3 separate regions of the Homo sapiens genome follow, and regions 1 and 2 are each linked to region 3. Evidence: promoter capture Hi-C in 16 types of primary human blood cells and fetal thymus (Javierre and others, 2016). All regions are on one chromosome and are shown on one strand. Each heading gives the region's core, a stretch centred on a gene start or on the middle of the fragment in contact. The rest is flanking DNA. Distances are from core to core; before and after follow the strand shown. Region 1 overlaps DYNC1H1 (dynein cytoplasmic 1 heavy chain 1). Region 2 overlaps PPP2R5C (protein phosphatase 2 regulatory subunit B'gamma). Region 3 holds the start of MOK (MOK protein kinase).

Evidence for each region. Contacts are between HindIII fragments. The CHiCAGO score rates a contact against its expected background, and 5 or more counts as called.
Region 1: a contact is called between a fragment that was not itself captured here and the fragment with the promoter of MOK in region 3, in 1 of 17 cell types (naive B cells). The highest score is 5.5, in naive B cells.
Region 2: a contact is called between a fragment that was not itself captured here and the fragment with the promoter of MOK in region 3, in 1 of 17 cell types (naive B cells). The highest score is 5.9, in naive B cells.

The regions. Positions count from the first base shown.
Region 1 is chr14:101,991,903-101,996,089 of GRCh38, forward strand. It overlaps DYNC1H1 (dynein cytoplasmic 1 heavy chain 1), which reads left to right. Exons shown (of 78, transcript NM_001376.5): 12 at 2,282-2,422; 13 at 2,771-2,947; 14 at 3,084-3,194; 15 at 3,279-3,398. Among named protein-coding and RNA genes, the nearest start is that of DYNC1H1, 29 kb to the left of the region's middle. RefSeq lists an enhancer at 1,082-1,221. The HindIII fragment of the contact is 8,132 bases long and covers 1-4,187 here.
Region 2 is chr14:101,832,245-101,836,858 of GRCh38, forward strand. All of the region lies in intron 3 of PPP2R5C (protein phosphatase 2 regulatory subunit B'gamma), which reads left to right. Among named protein-coding and RNA genes, the nearest start is that of PPP2R5C, 73 kb to the left of the region's middle. RefSeq lists an enhancer at 471-971. The HindIII fragment of the contact is 5,116 bases long and covers 1-4,366 here.
Region 3 is chr14:102,302,944-102,307,639 of GRCh38, forward strand. MOK (MOK protein kinase) reads right to left here and starts at 2,221. Exons shown (of 12, transcript NM_014226.3): 1 at 2,019-2,221. The coding sequence starts at 2,025. RefSeq lists enhancers at 2,102-2,624, 2,391-2,440. The HindIII fragment of the contact is 4,511 bases long and covers 1,819-4,696 here.

The DNA of each region.
Region 1 (4,187 bases), core at 364-2,863, 310 kb before region 3:
CATCTTTGGGAATCTCAATTCCTGCTTCTCCCTCTCCTCCCCACCCCCCACTTTTTATTAGGGGAATTTTAAAACATACACAAAAGTTGAGGGAATCAAGAGCCCCCCACCACACAGCTTTATCAATATGTGGACAATGTTATTTATATTTTCTTTCCTACCTCTCCACCCCCACCAGATTATCTTGAAGCAAATCTCAGATATAATATACTCTTAGTATATTTTTAGAACAAAAGGAAATCTCAAAAGACCATTTAGTCCCCAGTGTCACTTCTGAACAGAACCAGTGGCTTCATAAAAAAAGATGGCACAACTTCTGCTATTGCAGACTCTTCCAGAATTTAGTGATAAGACATTAACCGTTTTCTTAACTTTGAATATAAACTCAGATCTTTAAGGATTTTTTTTGAGGTAGTTAATTGCCTATGGCTAAAATCGTGGTGATGTTTCACCTAATGCTGGGCACTGTCCAGCTAATCAGAACCAAGCTATGGATATTGGCTTCTGCCCTTCAAGGAGTCTACGTACAATCCTTAGCATCATTCTCATCATGTTACTCCTGTTTTTAACCAGCCGTGTTTCTATTTGCATTGTTCTCTTGCTTATCTCCAAATTTAACAAACTAAAGCCAGCAGTCTCCTTTTTCCCTAGAGCCCATCCCCTCACTCTCGTTTAGCTGTTCTGCCCTCTCTTCTGGGTCTTCTTTCAGCACCTAAACGGGACCCCATGTCCCCTGCAATCTTCATAAGGAAGCTCCCTTCTCAGGCACTCATCCAGCCTCCTCCAGCACTGCTCTGTGTGATCGCCCATAGCCCCACCCTGCTGACTAGGGGGCTTCTCTGTCCTTGTCTCACCTCTTAACTGCAAGACTTGATGGAGGCTCCCTCCTGCGTGATGCTCTGGACTCTTCAGAACACCGTGCCTCCTGGTTCTCCTCCCACCTCAGTGGCTGGTCTCCTTTCTCGGTTCCTCTTTTGCCTTCCCCTTAAACTCCCTCTAAATGTTCTGTTCCCTCTCCACTCCTGTGCACTCTCATTGTGGTCTCATCTAGTCTTGTTGACTTTAAATGCCACCTGCAGGCTGACAGCTCTGTGTTCGTATCTCCAGCTGACCTTTCTCCCTACTCCAGGCTTGTCTGGGCAGCTACTAGCATGGCATCTCCACTTGGCTATCTCGGAGTCGCGTCACACTGAGCACCTCTTGAGCCCTGCCTCCCCAAGTTTGATCTTCCCTCAGTCTTTCACTTCTCATCCTTCAGCTCATTCAGGCCAAAAATCATGGTATTGTCCTTGATTCCCATTGTGTGTCTCTTGAAAATGAATGCTGAGCTGTTTCACTGGCACCACTCCGTACAAGGTACCATCACCTCTCACTTGGATTATTAATATTCCCTCCTATCTGTTCTCTCTGCCTTTGCCTCCCTAAAATCTGTTTTCAACACAGCAGCCAAAGCAAGTTTTAGATTCTAAGTCAATCCTGACACTCTTTTCGGAGCCCTTGAATGACTTCCTATCTCACTCATCATGAAAGTCAAAGCCCCAGTGGCTTGCTGGGCCCGTGTAATGTGTTGCTTATTATTTCTCTGACTTCAGCTCCTGCTGCTTCTCCCTTCACTGGCTCTGCCCCATCACACTGGAGTCTTGCTGGTCCTCAAACATGCCGGTAGACTCTTGCCCCTGCGCCTTCACATTTGTTGATCTCAACTCAGAATCCTTGATGGCAAATAATCACAACTTACCCCTCTCCTCCTGGTTTCTCGCAATTCTCCCCTTCTCAGCAAGGCCTTTCCTGACGTCATTACTGAAAATGCAGCCTTCCCCATGCTGTGCCCACACTCCCTCTCCTTCTCACTCTTGCTCCGTAGTTCTCTCTCACCACCTGACATTCTGTGTGTTTTGCTTATTCCCTAATCGCGTCTCTCCTCCCATAGAGTGTAAGTCCCTGTGAGCAGGGATTTTTATCTGCTTGTTGTACCTAGAACAGTGCCTGGCACATAACAGGCACTCAGATAGTTAAAATGAGCAAATGGCTTCGTGCACTTTTCAGCTGTTTTTGCATTGCCAAATTTCTCTGTTGTCATTAATGTTCTTGTATTGGTTTGATGAGTTAAATATAAGTAGGCTTTCTGGTTACTTGTGGCCAGGGTAAGTGGATGTTATCCCTTAAATGCCATTTTGGTCATGAGCTTTTCTTTCAGTTCATTTTAATTAAGTAAAAGGTGACACTTAGATTACCATTTTCATATACACTGCTTGCATTCATTTCGGCTTTGGTTGGCTAGGTGGGTGTACATTACGAATTGACTGAGGAAGAGAAATTCTATCGGAATGCTTTAACACGGATGCCTGATGGCCCTGTTGCCCTGGAAGAGTCGTATTCTGCTGTCATGGGCATTGTATCTGAAGTTGAACAGTATGTCAAGGTAAGAAACTCCTAATTTCATTCAAATGTGCATATGGTCTATTCTAGACACTTAAGAGTACAAGATATAAAGAACATGGAGCTAAAAGGTCTTGACTGTATGTATGGTTCACTAGATACTATTTGCTGTTTCAAAGCAGAGAGTAAATGATAGGATACATCTTTTTGAGTTTTAACCATGACGTTCAAGAATCTTTTTTGATATGAAAATTCTGAGAGTCTGAAGTGAGAATTTCTCTAATAGTGGTGAAAGACATGAACCTTCTTAATGGAATGTGAACATAAGAGGTGCCAGTATTCTACAAAATGAAAACTCAAACTATTATTTAACTGTGTTCTTCATTTGCAGGTTTGGCTTCAGTATCAGTGTTTATGGGATATGCAAGCTGAAAACATCTATAACAGACTTGGAGAAGATCTCAACAAATGGCAGGCTCTCCTGGTCCAAATAAGGAAGGCCAGAGGAACCTTTGACAATGCAGAAACCAAGAAAGAGTTTGGACCAGTAGTTATAGATTATGGCAAGGTGAGCCCTGCTGTCTGGTTGAAAGGTGTCACGGGTAGTGTAAAAGCAACATTTCTGTTAGACTGATATTCATTTGAAGGATAAACACGCCAGCAGGAAAGAGCTGATGATGTGTTGTGTGCTATTTCACCCTCAGGTACAATCTAAGGTGAACTTGAAATATGACTCTTGGCATAAGGAGGTTCTTAGCAAATTTGGGCAGATGCTAGGATCAAACATGACGGAATTCCATTCCCAGATCTCAAAGGTGAGGACATAGGATTCTGCCTCTGTAACCGGTCTACTGGTGAACCCCAGCTCTGTGATGAAATACTCCCCTCTCTCTGAACAGTCCCGCCAAGAGTTGGAGCAGCACTCAGTAGACACGGCCAGCACCTCCGATGCAGTGACCTTCATCACCTATGTGCAGTCTTTGAAACGGAAGATCAAGCAGTTTGAGAAGCAAGTTGAGGTGAGCTCTGTGCATATTTAAAAATTTTTGGCTGGGCGTGGTGGCTCACGCCTGTAATCCCAGCACTTTGGGAGGCCGAGGCGGGCGGATCACGAGGTCAGGAGATCGAGACCATCCTGGCTAACACGGTGAAATGCTGTCTCTACTAAAAATACAAAAAATTAGCCGGGTGTGGTGGCGGGTACCTGTGGTCCCAGCTACTCAGGAGGCTGAGGCAGGAGAATGGCATGAACCCGGGAGGCAGAGCTTGCAGTGAGCCGAAATTGTGCCACTGCATTCCAGCCTGGGCAACAGAGTGAGACTCCGTCTCAAAAAAAAAAAAAAAAATTACACTAGATCTCTAGTTTAATTTGGCTTCTATAGTATTTTGCATTCTAAGAGAATGACCTGACTCAACCCTTAAGGCACTCTTTTCTTAGTATGGCCCACAGATCATCTCTGTTACAACAGCCTGATGTGCTTGTTAAAACTTAGTGTAGGCCAGGCACGGTGGCTCATGCCTGTAATCCCAGAACTTTGGGAGGCCAAGGTGGGCAGATCACCTGAAGTCAGGAGTTTGAGACCAGCCTGGCCAACATAGTGAAACCCCATCTCTACAAAAAATATACAAAAAATTACCTGAGTGTGGTGGCATGTGCCTGTAGTCCCAGCTACTCGGGAGGCTGAGGCAGGAGAATCGCTTGAAGCTGGGAGGCGGAGGTTGCAGTGAGCTGAGATTGTGCCACTGCACTCCAGCCTGGGTGACAGAGCAAGACTCTATCTCAAAAAACTAAATAAATAATGAAAAAC
Region 2 (4,614 bases), core at 559-3,058, 470 kb before region 3:
ATAGATAGCCCAGGATTCCTCCAAGTGTGGCAAGTGCACACCACTGCTAACGGCAGTTATTTTAAGTGATTCAGAGTTGAGTATTATTTTACTTTAATAATTATATATTGATGAATGTGAAAATATATAATTAGCACATCAAATCCATGGTTTCTTGGGTTATTATTGCTTAGGACAGGGCTTAGTAAAAAGTGTATCCATTTAAAGCAAAATACCAAGTAAATAAGAGCCTGACTGTACACAGATTTGTGACGATCTTGAAGGTGTTCATGCAGGACTGAAGTACGGGAAACCCCAGGGTGGGCGACTCTGGGTTCCACCTGGGGAATCTGTTCCGAAGACACCTTCCCATCTCTTTCTTGGGTTACAAGCAGTGGAGACACACTTGGGCTTGCATAGATGAAGACAAGTGTTTTTAAGGCACAGTCACAGAGGGACTCCACACAGAGGAGCAGGGTGGAGCGGGACTGTGGAGGCAGAAGGGTCCAGACTCCAGCAGCGTGAGTGACCCCTCTGTGTCCTCATCCACCCCGCCACTCCCAGTCTTTGCGTGTCATGCCCCTTCTTCCCCGCGCTTTACCGTGTAATTTCTCTGCATGCTCTTCTGCATTTACTCAGTAACATAATACAGTTAGCAGTTGTGGGACCTCCAGCAAGTATTGAACTGTTGAGTGGCTGTTCTTCATTTGGAAAATGGGAGTGATAACAGTTTCTCTCTCACAGGACAGTTGTGGATAGTCAGGGAGGTTGCAGTGTGAACACTAGGCACAGCATCTGAAACGTGCTGGAATCAGTCATGTCCACACTGGCAGTGATTAGATCTGCCTGATTCTTCCCATGTTCCGTCTAGTGAGAAGTCGTCAGTAGCTTCAGTTTTCAGGAGGAAAACTTTGACTTGGTCAAAACTTTGTCCTTGATCAAGTTGTTTACTCTCACGCCAAGCCGCCCTGGAGTGTGGTCCAGGAAAAACATGGGCGCCTAGGTCCGCCCCTCGGCCAGCCGTGGCCAGAGGTCACTGGTGCTGCTGTTCACATGGCCGGTGTCAGGGTTTTAATTCGAGGTGGAGCTTCCCAGCCGTTCTGGTAATGAGGAGTCTTGCCTGATATGTCTTGGCCAGCTCTGATTGGTCAAATGTTTGAAGAAGATAGGGTTACCAAAGATTCCTAGACTCTCCAAGTTTGGCAGAAGTTGTTAGAGGATCACACAGTTACCTAAAATGATTGGTTTAATTATATGGTTTGATCATTCTTCAGAAACCACCACCTTGGGTAAACCATTGTTCTTAATTTTCCCTTCATTTTTTGCTCTCATTGTCTGGCCCCAAAGACACACCCCCTTGCGATTTTGTAAAGGATGCATTTCATTGAGAGGACACAGTATGAGGGAGCAGCACATGGACCTAAACTTGACTTCCACCACCCCCAGCCAGATGAATTGCTGAGTCAGTTCACTGTTCCAAAACTGTTTTCTCAAGGCATTATGGTAACAGGCCATGTGAAATTCCCTAACATGACTAGGGGTTTTCACTTCCCAGCTTTATTCAATCCAAGGGTTTTTTTGGCATTTTTTGTTTTTAAGACGGAGTCTCGCTCTGTCACCCAGGCTGGAGTGCAGTGGCGCGATCTCAGCTCACTGCAACCTCTGCCTCCAGGGTTCAAGTGATTCTCCTGCCACAGCCTCCCATGTAGCTGGGATTACAGGCACCCGCCACCTGCCACCACGCTCGGCTAATTTTTGTATTTTTGTAGAGATGGGGTTTCACCGTGTTGGCCAGGCTGGTCTCAAAACTCCTGACCTCAAGTGATCCACCTGCCTCAGCCTCCCAAAGTGCTGGGATTACAAGCGTCAGCCACCACACCCGGCCTGAATCAGTTTTGACATTGTCTCTTCCTCTGGGTGGCAAATGTGATCCATTCAAGACAGATTATATCCCATGTGAAGAGTCACCCTGAGAATTTGAGCAGGGTGTGCTGTGTGGTTACTTGGACTCCAGACCCTTGTCTGCAGAACTGGTGGGACCTTGACTGGGTCCGGTTCTCCTGTCTGCACATGCAGGCCATGGAGGTGCTGAGGTTGCAGCAGTGACGGCAGCACTGAGGGTCAGCTTCAGGGGGACCCTCTTCAAGCCAAACAAAAAGTCTTCTCAAAAAATGGAACTAAAGATGGTCCCTTGATGTGGCGTCTCAGTACGGCTGCTGAGGTATCTCACAAGGCCACCAGCAAGTTAATCTAAGGAGGCATTTTCCTCTTGTGATCAGGCAGCTGTTCCAGCAGAAATGGCTCAAGGAGAAATTCTCCTCCCAGATTCAGTGTCTGGTGGGTGAAACTTCACTGGTGCGTTGCCAGCCCTGGCCTCCAAATCTCTTTAAATTATGAGGTCATAGAATGCATGCTTAAAGCCCCAGGCCTGTCAAGTCGCTTGGGGACATTCATACTGAGGATTTATTAAGATATTAATTTGGTTATCAGGAGTCTGGATGGGGATGAGAGGAGGGGATCTTTATTACATGCTGGGAAAATCAGAAATCAACTCTAATTGACTACCTCTACTCTTTCCTCTCCCAAGATGACTTTGCCAAAAAGCTGTGAGAAAAAGTCCTCAAATCTCAGAGATTGACTTGGTACTTGATTATATCCAGCTCGCTGGTGGGCCTGTGGCCACAGAGCCTCAGAAGAAGGTTAGAAGGTCTGGCCAGACTTTAGCTTTGCTCCACCTACTTGGCAGGGTCAAGCCTACTTGCCAGTGGCTTGGAGAAGTGTTTTGTTTTGTTTTGTTTACTTTTTAGGAGTGTATTCAAAGCACATTCACAGTAAGGAAAAAAAAAATGCAGCCTGTGTCTTCAGGGACTGGGAGTCTCTGATTCCAGCACAGCCGACTGTCCAGCAACCCCAGAATTGGTAGGCTGGACACTGGGCTGCTCCTCATGGCGGTGGGAGCATGGGCTGCTCAGCTGGGGCCATCCAAGGAAGCAAAGATGTGGTGCTGTCCTGTGGCTGGGGGAGCAGGATGAATTGGGATAAGGGAAGCCCAGGGCAGGGTGTTGGCACAGAGCTGGGAGGTGCATTACACCGAGGAACTGACGTGGCCTAAACTCCACAGTGACTTCCACCTGGGATCACAGTTTACAGTCAGCTGAGTGCTCAAGAGAACTCAGTAGAGGGGAATGTTGATGATTCAGGTATTTGGTTGGTGATCATGTTATCAAGTCAGACTTGCAGTTAAGGTAGTGTCCCAGACGTTTGTTCAGAGGGCTCCTTCCCACTTGTCATCTGTAATACTGGCTAATGGGAAACCTGGCCCATGTCAAATTTGTATTAGGAACCATTGATTTCAATTCACGGGCTTTTTCCATTGAGGAATTTAAAGGTCTTAGAAGTAATATTCTTGTTAAGGCATCTGAGGTCTCCCGGGGGACAGACACAGTCTTCATCTTGAGCAGGAACGGTGAGACCACTCTTCTCCCTGTAAGGGACCAGTAGCATGTGTGGGACCACGCCGCCTGCACAGCCGTCCCCTCACGGGGTGCCTCTTGCCCTTGCAGATCACCAGGTGCTCCGAGCTGCCCTGCCTGGGCTCAGGCATCAGCACGGTCCCATCTGAGCGTCGCCTTAACCTCTCTGTAGACCTCTGTCCTTGTCTATCTAATGGGGATGATGGTAGCCCCTCTGTGTGTTCTTACTAGGATTAGTGGGCTGGGAAAAGTTACAGTAATATATTACCAGCATGTAGAAAATACCCAATAATGATGAACTATTAGTATTCCTTAAAAGAATTAAAAGTGAAAATAGTAGGAAACACTAGTAAGATAAAATACAATGGGAAATTAAATTTTTTTAATTACTTAAGGAAATTCCTCAATCCACAAGCAACAATAAATAAGAAACTGAGATTTCCTAGCAGCTGAAAGGTTTTTTTTTTTGCAGTTGAGGCTGTGAAGCTGGGCAGGGTTTCAGCTGAGCTGAGGTTGGAAGTCCCTGACCTTCAGCTGTGGCCGCCTACGGAGCAGCAGGGAGAGCAAACCCATGGAGAACCCCGCGGCCCCCAAAGCATGGACGGAGCTGCCAGCCTTCTCCCCTGCCCTTCTTCCTCTACTCCCGACCTGCCAGCCTTCTCCCCTGCCCTTCTGCCTCTACTCCCGACCTGCCAACCTTAGCCTAAAATCAGAGCTGCTAGAATCACACACACTGTCGTAGCTGGTTTTGTATTGTAAATGAGTCATTCTGTTATTTTGGAAACTTATGTCTCATGCCAGGATCTGCAGATAGTTCTTTTTCAAAATATTGTTTAGACAAAATAAATTTCTTTAAATATAATATCTCTACTTTAAATGCCTGGGGTGTTGCATGCATTTTTCTAGGCTAGCAAAGCTTAAAGATTATTTCTATAATTTCAGTTACATTTACCTTTATAGATGGGTTACTCTAAGTAACAAATTAAACACACATGGATCTTCTAACTTTGGCTTTAAATCCTAAGAAGAGATAGGTAATATATAAAAGAGTATTAAAAAGAAATGGAGAGTAAAGGTATATGTCGGGCAGATGCAGTAGAAAAGCAAGGGTCATGACGTCAATGCTGGGCAAAGCTAAATTGTGAAGACAAAACAATAATGA
Region 3 (4,696 bases), core at 971-3,470:
TTGACGTCAGGAGTTTGAGACCAGCCTGGCCAACATGTTGAAACCCCGTCTCTACCAAAAAATACAAGTTAGCTGGGCGTGGTGGTGCACACCTGTAATCTCAGCTACTTGGGAGGCTGAGGTAGGAGAATCACTTGAACCCGGGAGGCAGAGGTTGCAGTGAGCCAAGATTGCACCACTGCACTCCAGCCAGGGTGACACAGAGAGACCCTGTCCAAAAAAAAAAAGAGTCTAAGAGAAAAAGAAGGTAGATAAATAAACCAAATGATCAAATCTAACTTCAGCAAAACTGCAACGAACTGACATCAGGCACTCTGGAAGGGCCACACTGACAGAGACACAACGTTGCCTCTCACATATTCCTGGTAAAAACATTTAAGCTGAAGCTAATCATGAGGCGAAAATCAGACAAATCCAAATTGAGCGATATTCTGCAAAACACTGGGCTGGATTCTTTAAAAATGTCATTTGGCCTACAGAGGACAGCCAAATAAAAATGAAAATATCATTGTCATGAAAGACACAAAAGGCAGGGACACCATATTAAAAGAGACCAAAGAGATATGACAACAGAATACAATTGGTGATTCTTGATTGGATAGAAAAAATATAAACAACTATAACACATGTTATTGGGATAAATGGAAAAACTGAAATATGGACTGTGTATCAGAGTATTGTATCATTGTTAAATTTTCTAAATGTGTTATTTGTACTGTGATGATGTAGGAGAATGTCCTTGTTCTTGGCAGATAACTGCTGAAAGAAGTGGTGAATTATTAGTAGTCTACAACTAACTCTTGAAAGGTCCAGTGAAAATAAATACATAAATGGGAGAGAGAAAACACCAGAGCGAAAGCGAGCACACAAAAATAAGGCAAAATGGTGCAGCTAAGTGAAGGACGGGTTTATAAATATTCAATGTACTGCTCTTGCAACTTTCCTGTACATCTGAAAATTTTCAAAACAAACAGATGGGAAGAAAAAAATGAATATAGTACAAAATATGTGCAGTATCATAGTCTGCACTGTAAGTAAAAGTGTAAAGTCTTTTGTAGACCTTGGATTCTAACTACAGCTTTGTAGTGCATTAATGAAAAAGGTAAACATTAAACAATATCCAACAAAATAAAATAAAAATAAAAATGCCTTGTAAAGGGTGAATGAGATTAATTATTTTAAATGTTATGCAATGTACACCATTGACAATTAGGATACAATGCAAATTTAACATTATAACTACTCCTAACATAATATTTTCACAGCAAAGGTCTGAATTTTTACTGCACCTCTGGTTCACAACCATAAACAATTATATCTGTACAGTAATAATAATTTTAAAAACATCATTCTAGCTGGTTGCACTTGGATTGTCAATAATCCACAAATCCCACTAAAGAAAATTTTTTACCCGTTACATTTTCTAGAATGACTACCTCATTTCCCAACTTTGAAGTAACAGCTTTTAACTAAAAGGTTGCTTCAAAACTACTATTAAAAAGTGGTTCCTATAAAACACTACTGCTTGACCCAAAAAATAAAATAAAGCACACAGCCCAGCTTTCCTCTCAATTGGTCACTAAACCAGTATCATGAAAAGGCAGGGAGCCACGCTGTAAGCGCTCCCCCGTTTTCTGCCGAATGTTCAGGAAAAGAGTGTCAGGTTCAAGCCAGCATTTAAAATAAAATAAAATGAATCACAGTCAACTCCCTAAACTCCAATGTAAGAACCACGCACCTGCACCAAAATATGCCTGAGCGGGAACTCGAGTCGGCTCTCCGAGACCCCAAAGTTCCCAACCTAGCCCCAACCCCTCAAGCTTCCCCCAGGGGCACCGGCTTCTCACAGCCGAGGGGGATTCGGGGCCCACATGCGGAGCCTCCCGGGCCTGTCGAGCCACGGCAGAAGGCGACGACGCCCGGCCCCACAGGCCCCTCAAGCTCCTCAAGCTCCCCCAGTCCCTCCCTCCCCCGCCACTCGCTCTCCAGTCCCTGCCCCTTTCCCCGGCCCCACTCACTCTTCATCTTGGATGCGGAAGCCGGTGACAACCCCTTGCCGACACTGGACGGAAAAGAAAGAAGCAGGAAGGTTGTCCCCCTGCTTTCCACTTCCCTGAGGCGGGGTCCCGCACTAGGATCTCCGTGGTGGTCCCTCGAAGGAGAGCGTTAGAGATCCCGCCGCCATGTTGTGTCCCTGTCACCCTAGCAACCGTCAGGCCCTGAACGCCATGAGCTGTCGCCTGCGCATGCGCAAGATGCCCCGCCCATGTACGCGTGCGCAGTGCAGCCCGTCCCCTCAGCCCGGTTGCTAAGCAGCCTTTCCTCCGCTTCCATGTAAATACTGTGCAAATCCCCGCCTTTGACACAGGCGACCTTCGCTCGGCTCGCTCTCCCTGCTGGCCTGGGAACTTAGCGATTTGGAACCCACTACGTGGACGATAGCCTTGAGCTTTAATTGGGCTTGGGAGCTTCTACAGGAATTTTTTTTTTTTTTTGAGACAGAGTGTCGCTCTGTTACCCAGGTTGGGGTGCAATGGCGTGATCTCGGCTCACTGCAACCTCCGCCTCCCGGCTTCAAGCGATTCTCCTGCCTCAGCCTCCCAAGTAGCTGGGATTACAGGCACCCACCACTACACCCGGCTAATGTTTTTGTATTTTTAGTAGAGACGGGGTTTCACCATGTTAGGCTGGTCTCGAACTCCTGACCTCAGGTGATCCGCCTGCCTCGGCCTCCCGAAGTGCTGGGATTACAGGCGTGAGCCACCACGCCCGGCCCAGTTTTTCTTTTTAATTCAACAAGCATTTGTTTTTGCCCCAGGAACTGTCGCAGGTATTGGGGATTAAAGGACAGTGTAGACGAGGTGACTGAGTTCTTGAAACTAACATTCTAGTGTAAAGATGAATGAATGTACACCGGAATGAACTATGTGCAGACACGGTGCCTAAGCAACACAGTGGCCTAGTTCTCTGGACCCTGACAAAACAATAAAATAACAAGCATACTATGTATGGGTATAGTATTTTATGAAGCTCATTAGATTAGCCTCATAATTATTCCATGAGATCAAAACCCTGTTTTTTCCTCCATTTTTTTTCTTTTACTAAAATACATCGTTTATTTTTAAAACAGATAAGTAGCCTTGCCAAAACGAAGCCTCAGAAAATTGGTTTAAGACTGAATTGGCCAGGTGTGGTGGCTCACACCTGTAATCCCAGCACTTTGGAAGGCCGAGGCAAGAGGATCGCTTGAGGCCAGAAATTCAAGACCAGCCTGGGCAACATAGAGAAACCCCACTTCCCTCTTAAAAAAAAAAAAAAAAAAACTCCGGGCGTGGTGGCTCACGCCTGTAATCCCAGCACTTTGGGAGGCCAAGGCGGGCAGATCACGAGGTCAGGAAATCGAGACCATCCTGGCTAACACGGTGAAACCCCATCTCTACTAAAAATACAAAAAAAATTAGCCGGGCGTAGTGGCGGGCGCTATAGTTCCAGCTACTCCGGGGGCTGAGGCAGGAGAATGGCGTGAACCCTGGAGGCGGAGCTTGCAGTGAGCCGAGATTGCACCACCTGCACTGCAGCCTGGGCGACAGAGCAAGAGACTCAAAAAAAAAAAAAAAAAAAAAAAAAAGCCGGGCACGGTGGCACATGCCTGTAAACCCAGCTATTCAGGAGAATAAGGCGGAGGTATCTTGAGACCAGGAGTTCTAGGCTCAGTGAGCTATGATAGCACCACTGCACTCTAGCCTGGGTGACAAAGCAAGACCTTGTCTCGAAAGAAAGAGAAAGCGGCCGGTCGCGGTGGCTCACACCTGCAATCCCAGCACGTTGGGCGGCCGAGGCAGGCAGATCACTTGAGTCCAGGAGTTCGAGACCAGCCTGGCCAACATGGGGGAAACCCCGTCTCTACTAAAAAAATACAAAACGGCTGGGCACAGTGGCTGATGCCTGTAATCCCAGCACTTTGGGAGGCCAAGGCGGGTGGATCCCCAGGTCAGGAGTTCAAGACTAGCCTGGCCAAGATGGTGAAACCCCATCTCTACTGAAAATAGAAAAATGAGCCGGGTGTGGTGGCAGGCACCTGTAATCCCAGCTACTCGGGAGGCTGAGGCAGAGAATTGCTTGAACCCGGGAGGCGGAGGTTGCAGTGAGCCGAGATTGCGCCACTGCACTCCAGCCTGGGCGACAGAGTGAGACTCCGTCTAAAAAAGCAAATACATAAATAAAATACAAAACAAGCCAGGCGTGGTGGCTCACACCTATAATCCCAGCACTTTGGGAGGCCGAGGAGGATGGACCAACTGAGGTCAGGAATTCGAGACCAGCTGGCCAACCAACATGGTGAAACCCTGTCACTACTAAAAATACAAAAATTAGCCAGGTGTGGTGATGCGCTCCTGTAATCCCAGCTACTCAGGAGGCTGAGGCGGGAGAATCACTTGAACCCAGGAGGTGGAGGCTACAGTGAGTCGAGATCCTGCCACTACACTCCAGTCTGGGCGACAGAGCAAGACTCCATCTCAAAAAATAATAAATAAATAAATGGTTACAATGGTGAATTTTATGTAAATTTTCTCTCAATAAAAAAGTTGAAAAAATAAATAGCGATTATTGCTGGTGTATTATTGTTGGTGGTGCTATCTTTGTTGGCTTTGAGAAGCCACATCTAATCTCTCCAGACCACTAGGATTTGATCTAT